2 separate regions of the Homo sapiens genome follow, and region 2 is linked to region 1. The links are contacts of gene promoters, found by promoter capture Hi-C in blood cells and fetal thymus (Javierre and others, 2016). All regions are on one chromosome and are shown on one strand. Each heading gives the region's core, a stretch centred on a gene start or on the middle of the fragment in contact. The rest is flanking DNA. Distances are from core to core; before and after follow the strand shown. Region 1 holds the start of PAX8 (paired box 8). Region 2 has its middle 11 kb from the start of IL1RN.

Region 1 (3,932 bases), core at 1-2,500:
GGCCGGGAAGGGGGAAAACAGGCATCGCGGCCTGGGAGCTCGAGTGTGTTTGAAGGCCCTGCTTCCGGGCGCAGGTGGGGAGGGGGTTTTGACTCCGCGAGCGGCTTAGTCCTCACCAGCCGGACGCCCCGCGCGCGGCGCCCGGCCTGCCCGGTGCTGGGCCAGGAGGAGTCGGAGAGCACCTGAGTGCGCTGCCGGCTCCCGGGCCCGGGACCACCGGCTCCATTGCCGTTGGCTTGAGAGATGCGGGGAGCTCACAGTCCAGCCAGGGGAGTCACTGGGAAGGACTGCGCGCACCCGAGGAAGAGGACTTAGAGGTCGGGGACGGGGAAACGGCAAGTCCAGCACCGGTGCAGCCCAGGGACAGAGCACGAAGAATGTCCACACTAATGCGCCATGCAAGGCTGGGAATGGAGCTCAAAGGAAACCCCCTCTAACTCCACAGAGATCCCCTCACCGATCCATGTGGTCCCTCGAAACCGGGCAAGGGCGGCTCAGCTGGCCGGGTGGAACCCCAGTGCCCGAGAACAGCGAGGCGGCTCCAGCGGAGGGCCAGGCCCCAGGCGCCCCAGCTGGGTCCCCACGCGGGTGGGTCCCGCGAATCCCGTGCTGACGCTCTCGAGATCCAACCACCCGAGCGCACGCACGGACGCTCAGCGGCGCGGGGGCTCGGGGATCCTGACCACACCGCGTTCTTACCAGATCTGATGGAGTTGTGAGGCATCGCCGGGGAGTCGCTCGCAGCCCGCCGAGGGCTCGGGGCTTCCTCCCGTAGGTCCGGGCCGCGCCTGCCGCTGCCCTGCACAAACCCAGGAGAAGGGCATGAGATGCGATGAGATTCGATGCCTGCATCCTCAGGCCCCCTCCCCAGGCCTCATCCTTTACACCTGCATCGTCTGCCAGGAGTAGGAGGATTTTTAGGCGAAGTAGGGCCAACCTCAGCCTAGCCTAGCTAACAGGCTTCCCGGGAGGATCAAGGATTGGGAGTGCGCTGAAGAAGCTCCAGACTCCAACCTCCGTGCCCACTCCCTCCGCTGTCCCAGTCTTATCCCGTTTAACTTGGGAGGGAAAAGGCTGCCAGGCATCCTGGGACCCTCTCCTTTCTTCCATCCCCCGTCCTCACTGCTAGCCAGCTTCCAGCTAACCCCTGGGTGACATACCTGGCCGGCCGGCTGCAGGCCCTCACTGCTTGGGTCCGCCCGCGAGGGTGCCCTGGGCCCGGTGTCTCTCCTCCTTCTGAAGTTTGTTCCCATCCACCCGGCATCACCGACCGGTTTTATCCCGCTGAGGCCCTGGGAGATGGGTCTGGCGAGGCTCGTAGGCCGCGGATTGGCTGGCTGGGTGCAGGGGGGTGCGGGAAGGGGAGGATTTTGCAAGGGGGACATGGCTGAGTGGACTCAGGAGTTAGAAACATTCGCTGGGAGCTTCTGTTTCCAGCGGAGGGAAGAGGGAGGCAGCTGAGCCCTAACTCAGCAGGCCTGGAAATATTGGAGGAGTGGGGAACAGAGGCCTAGGAGCCTGAGGATGAGGTTCTCTGGGTCCTCCTGGGTCACTGACCACCAGAAGTGAGAGGGATGGTCTCTGTAGGATGCCCTCCTTGCCCCCTGTCTCCCCTGGTTTGCTCACCAGGAAGCAGCCTTTTCTTTTGTAAAAGGAAGGAGGGAACTTCTGTTTTATGCCTGATTCTTTAGGTAGAGCCTGCTTTCGGGGCTGTAGGCAAGATGCTATTACCTTCTCACCACAGCTATGACCTCTTCCAGGGAAGAATCCTGAGCAGCACCTGAAGCCATTCCCTCTGTTCTACACAGATAGCGTTCACACCCTTGCATTGTCAGGCTAACAAAATTGTCACATAACCCATTCCACAGCAACTCCTCGCCTCTCTCCTCTGGAACACACACGCAGCCACCTGCCCTCTTTCTTGCTCCTTGAGGATTTTGAACTTGGAAGAAGAGTTCAGGGGAAGGGCATTGAGGGCCTAGACTTCATCTCTGTGTGGAAAGGCCTTAGAAAGGAACAGGACTGAGCTGACCTCTGGCCTGGTCTGTAGGAATCAATAGCCTCAGCAATATGGGGGCCTGGGTGTGGTTAAGAAGGGGTCCACTGGTGGGAATGATGGCAGGGTTGGTGAGCCCTGGGACCGAGCAGAGCTGCCTGGCACCTCTTTACCTTAGTGATGGCAAAAGCTGCCCCCTCCTTCCTCATAGTTCTCTCAGTCGGGGAACCGGGGTACACGTAAGATTGTGAGTGGGTATGAGTGAGCAAATGTCCTGGAACACTGGCAGGCCTGGGGGTCAAGGCCTGGATGCTCCTCCAATCTTTGGCCAGACCTCTGGACTCAGGATTACAGTCTAGAGGACAGCCATGCCCTTTTCAGTGATGGCTCTGCAGGCCTGGTGGGGTTGTTCTGGGACAGGAGGCTAAGAAGCCAGTGGGAGGGGGGCAAGGAAGGTGCAGGGGAAACTGGGATATTCAGGGGGATTGGATGTGTGTGTGTGTGTGTGTGTGTGTGTGTGTATGCACATATGTACACGTGTGTGAAAACACATGAACTATTTTTCTGAATTAAAAAAGTTTTCTCTTTCATGTCAATCCACAACCTCCTTCCACCCAGTCTTTCTCATTTCTCAATTTAGGAGAAATGAATCATCTTGTGAAAAAAGAGAGAAGAAGATGTGTATCCCTACATGTTTCCTCCACATTTGCAAAGAGGGGCTGTAAACAAAAATAGTTGGTGCTTCATCATTTTAAATCTTTCTCTAAAATTGTAATTTTAAATATCTCTGTGGTTTTCAAAGCTCCAGATCCCTAACTTCTCTGGCAGTCCCTCCCAGAGAGAGACAATCCAAGGGTGTTGGGATGGAAATGGATCTTGGCATAGGTCCTCCGGACCCCATGGGCCAGTTTGCTGCCCTGGATTGTGTCCTGCTGCAGGGGAGGTGTGGAGTGTGGCAGCCACAGCAGAAACTCTCTTTGTCCACCCAGGATTCCCTCCCACCAGGGAGGCAATGCTCCAGGGTGAATCTAATACGCCCTCATTTCAAACAGCTCTGACAACCTTAGAGATTCTACCCAATCTAAGGTTCTGATACGTACCAATAACCATTGACTCTCATGCAATCATTCTTGCCTGTGCACATCTTTTCTGCCCAAGCAATGAACCCTCTCCCTTTCCTATCCCCTTTTTGGGCAAAATTTCTTAGAGGACAAATCCAGCAAGTTATCAGAACATTCCTGTCCCATGTATAAATTTATCTTTAAAATTTCATTTCAAGGTAAAAACAATGTGCACTGTTCAAGGTTACTCCTCAGGGAAAAACACACCCCACACCTTGACAGTACCTCTTCTCCAGACTGCAGGTGACATAGCAGGTGACCAGAAGACTCAGCAGAGAAGATCTAGGACGAGCAAGAAGTGAGAATGCAGTGAACTTCTGCTGCAGAGATAAACACAGGCCTCCTGGACTGACCCTGCTTCTAATTAGAATCAGAAATCAGGCCTGGGTTCCTTGGTACTTCCTAATTCTCTGAGACCAAGGCCAAGGAAATGTCATTAACTGGTGCTTTAACTCTGTCTCTTTGGCATCAGTCTCCTCCTCTGCAAAACGAAAGGTTTGAAATACATATATTTTTAAAATCACCTATTATCACAGTATTTTTTCAAACTTAAAATCCATGATGCTTTTAGTTAAGAATAAAAATCATATGCCTTCCTATGATGATATTTGAAATTTTAAAATAAATTTGCACTGTGACTAATAGACTTTCAATGGGACTTTTAGAACTCTTTTTTTTTTCTTCTAGACTTAGTCTCACTCTGTCACCCAGGCTGGAGTGCGGTGGCATGATCTCGGCTCACTACAACCTCCACCTCCTGGGTTCAAGTGATTCTCCTGCCTCAGCCTCCCGACTAGCTGGGGCTACAGGTATGC
Region 2 (3,932 bases), core at 711-3,210, 140 kb before region 1:
ACGCCTGTAATCCCAGCACTTTGGGAGGCTGAGGTGGGCAGAGCACTTGAGGCCAGGAGTTCAAGACCAGCCTGACCAACATGGCAAAACCCTGTCTCTACTGAAAATGCCAAAAAATTAGCCAGGCATGGTGGTACATGCCTGTAATCCCAGCTACTTGGGAGGCTGAGGCATGAGAATCACTCAAACCTGGAAGGTGACAGTTGCGGTGAGCTGAGATCATGCCACTGCATCCCAGCCTGGGTGATAGTGAGACCCTGTCTCAAACAAACAAAAAAACAAAACACTTCCTTACTTTGGTTTAAAGTGTTCCATAAAATATTCCTAAGAGGAAAAACTTTAAATCATCATCGTGCTGCTAGAATGTCAGCTCAACCCATGCAGATATTTTTGTCTGTTTTGTTCTACAGTGTATCTCAAGTGCCAAGGCCATTGCTTGCGATATACTGGGTGCTAAGTGAATATCTGGCCAGTGAATAAATGAATTGGCCACTGATATATCAATATGGATTAATTTATTCGACAGGTCAGCAAATTTGAGAAGACTGGGGACTTGGATCAGGAATATTTTGAAGGAAGCTTAGAAGAGGGAAAAGGCCCAGAGTGAAGGATTTTTCAGATATTTGGAGGTTAAGAAAAAAGATATGACCACGAGGTGGCGGTAGCACACATAGGCTTTCGGGTTGATGCTTTAACAGGTTTACACTGGGGAAGGTCCTTTATAGCAGGAATTGGTCAAGGAGGCTATAGTGTGGAGATGGGGTCCTACTCAGAGGGGAAGGAGGGCAAGAGGACTCCTAGGAAAGAAGAGAATTGGAAAGGGGGCTTACATGGCCAGGTGAAGTCACCCAGCAGCACAGCAGGGAATCTCTGGGTCAGAGAGCTCCTATGGGCTGCAGTGGCTTGAGGCCTTTATGGCTTGGGGCTTATCCTTGGCCAGCAGATATTGGATACAGTTTCATGGAGTATACAGAGCAGGCAGGTTCTAAATGGATTACCATAGGCTTATTGGGGCTATGTTTAAAGCAAGTGGATGTGCAAACATTTGAGTTTGGCTTGGTGGGGTATTCCAGGTCTGGTCTCAGCCTGCGGTGAGGAAATTAATAATCAAGGGGCCAGCACTTTATATAGCACAAGGCAGGGGCCATGGATTAGGAAAGCCAGGCCTGGGGTTCATGCTTAAGTGAGGCTTTTGTTCAACTGGGAGGCGGTGCACAGGTGACTGGGAGGTGGAGGGGCTGAGATGGGAGAGAAAAGCACAGAGAGGGAAGACAAGCAAGCCTCAAGAGGATTGTGGCTTCTTCCGTCACTTCTGGGCCTGATCTACTACAACACTACAGAATCAAGGACAACTGTTTGAAAATTCAAGGCTGAATTCAGGTCTTTCATTGGTGAGTCAGAGTTTTCCTACAGACTCCCTGGGGGGCCCTTGGCCAAGCAACCTCTCCTCCCTAGGCCTCAGTTTTCATAAAAGGAGGGAATTGAACTAGATATGTGTCTTCATCAGGCTGACCTGCAGGAGCTTTTTACCAAAAGTGGCCTACCTCCTCCATCCAGAGGTTCTGATTCACTTGATCTGGGTGTGGGACAAGGACATCATGATGCCAGGGCTGAGGCCCTGTGGACCACATAGCTCCTAAGTCAGGGACCCTGAGGTCAAGTCCTCCCAGCTCTCCCACCTGGCCCTGGTAGTGTCTGTCAATACAATGGAGGGAGATGGTCTTTAACTTCAAAGAAAGGCCACTTACCGCATCAGCAGTACATTTTGACTACATGTTAATTTGGGTTGAAGGTAGAAGATTTTCTATTTTCTCAATCACAGGCTGGCTAAAACACATTTCAAGCTTCATTCTGGGGGGAACATAAATTGGCCTTCAACAGGGGGTGTCAAATTGGGGTAAAATTCTTGCAAATCTTGGGGAAACCAAATAAGTTTTTGTTTTCTCTTCACATAACTATGAAATCCCTAGCCACAACAGCAAATCTCAACATGCTTGATATTCAGCCCAGTTCTCTCCATAAAAGTTTCTGGAGACAATGAAACTCATCTATTGGGTTCTTAGCTTTAAACCTGAGAAAGCTTAAAAACAGGGAAGATTAGCTTTGACGTCTTGCCTCTGGGTCTCCTTCATGTGGAGCTAAAAGAGTAGTTCAGGAAATATCCACCAGGGGTCAGCATTTTGTACACACCTGACTGCTCTGGAAAGTGTTTTTGTTTTTTTTTTTTTAAATAGAAACGGGGTTTCACCATTTTGCCCAGGCTGGTGTCCAACTCCCAGACTCAAGCAATCCGCCCGCCTCAGCCTCCCAAAGTTCTAGCATTACCGTGTGAGCCACCACACCCGGCCTGGAAAGAATCTTGACAAGGCAAATAATCAGTTTGGTTCATGCTCTCAAATTAGTGAAGGTCTGGTTTTTCAAGACTCTCTAGGTGTTTCACTCTAAGGAAAAATTTATTTTCATTCACCTATCAATCAAGCTGAGGTGGGGCCTGACTCCTGACAAGTATCCAAATGTTGCCTATTGCCAATGTCTAGTCTCCAAGGGGTGACACCCGAGAAATTCTAAGTCTTCTGTGCCTGCTTTAAAGTCCACTTCCTGTCATCCTGTTATCTGTTGCAGACCTTTTACCTGTATGATTGACTGGTGTGTGGAATTAACACTTCCCTCCTCGGCCGGGGGAACACACCCACATGTTGGAACTCAGCACAGGAATCCCAACGGCGTGCCTACAAGGGAAATGCGTACTTTTGTGTGTTGGTGGGTAGTGGACAGAACTCGTAAAAGAGATAGATAAAATACCCAGGCACTCACTACAGTGGGGAATGGATCTGTTCAGGGGCCAGCTATGCCTGCATTCTTTCCCAGGGACAGTTGACACAGTCAGATGACTCAGGAAACTTGATTTGCTTGGAGTCAGAGCAGAGGAAAGATCTTAGTGACCAGGGACCTCAAGCTGCCCCACCTGAGCGCTCCACCTCCACTCCAAGGGGCTTCCTGCCAAGAGATCAGTATGTCTGTGTGTAGAGTCAAGACACATCTTCCTTAGGCCACAATGGAGTCACACTGACATCTTCGCCTTCCCTCCTTGGCAGTATTTATTATAAGTCACAGGAGTTTAGTTTTCTTTCAACTCAGGCCTGTGGTTGGAGCACAGGGAGCTAGGCTGGGGCTAGATCTTGCTAACCTAGTAGGCAATGGTAAGGATTCTAGTCTGTCCTAAAGCATAAATAGGCCTTGGACACTCTGAAATTTGTCCTTTCACCACCCCATGCTCTACTTCTAAGTGCTCTCTCTCCCCATCTGCACCCCCTAGTTCCTACAAAAATCTCCTCAAAGCGAGGCTCTTGGACAATTTGTTCCATGAAGACATCGAGCACGGTCCATACCAGCCCTCAATAACCCCCTCTTCTAGACTCCATGAGGACCTGTAGCCCAGACCCCTGATCTGCATGGCGCCTCTGGGGTCTTTCCAGAGGTGTATGTTTTAACCATCCCCTGAGCACCTTAAAGTAAAGATTCAGTGTTTTGCTGTTTGTGCTCCCTAGAGCACCTGGGCGCTTATCGGAAACTGATGAAAACTCACTGCCAACATATTCTGAAGTATATTCATTCATTTATTTAATTTATTTATTTTTTTATTTTTCCATAGGTTAATGGGGTACAGGAGGTGTTTGGTTACATGTAGTAAGCTCTTTAGTGGAGATTTGTGAGATCCTGGTGGACCCATCACCCAAGCCGTATACACTGTACCCTATTTGTAGTCTTTTATCTCTCACCCCCCACCCACCCTTCCCCCCAAGTCCCCAAAGACCATTGTATCATTCTTATGCCTTTGCATCCTCATAGCTTAGCTCCCACATATCAGTGAGAACATACAATGTTTGGTTTTCCATTCCTGAGTTACTTCACTTAGAATAATAGTCTCCAAT

What was found. The method cuts DNA at HindIII sites, captures the fragments that hold promoters and counts their contacts. A CHiCAGO score of 5 or more calls a contact.
Region 2: a fragment that was not itself captured here is called in contact with the fragment with the promoter of PAX8 in region 1 in 5 of 17 cell types (M1 macrophages, M2 macrophages, M0 macrophages and 2 more); the score reaches 7.2 in M1 macrophages.

Annotation. Positions count from the first base shown.
Region 1 is chr2:113,277,671-113,281,602 of GRCh38, forward strand. It overlaps PAX8 (paired box 8), which reads right to left and starts at 1,251. Exons shown (of 12, transcript NM_003466.4): 1 at 1,161-1,251; 2 at 700-799. The coding sequence starts at 724. RefSeq lists a promoter at 724-1,853. The HindIII fragment of the contact is 9,772 bases long and covers 1-3,932 here.
Region 2 is chr2:113,136,409-113,140,340 of GRCh38, forward strand. No RefSeq gene overlaps it. Among named protein-coding and RNA genes, the nearest start is that of IL1RN, 11 kb to the left of the region's middle. The HindIII fragment of the contact is 236 bases long and covers 1,843-2,078 here.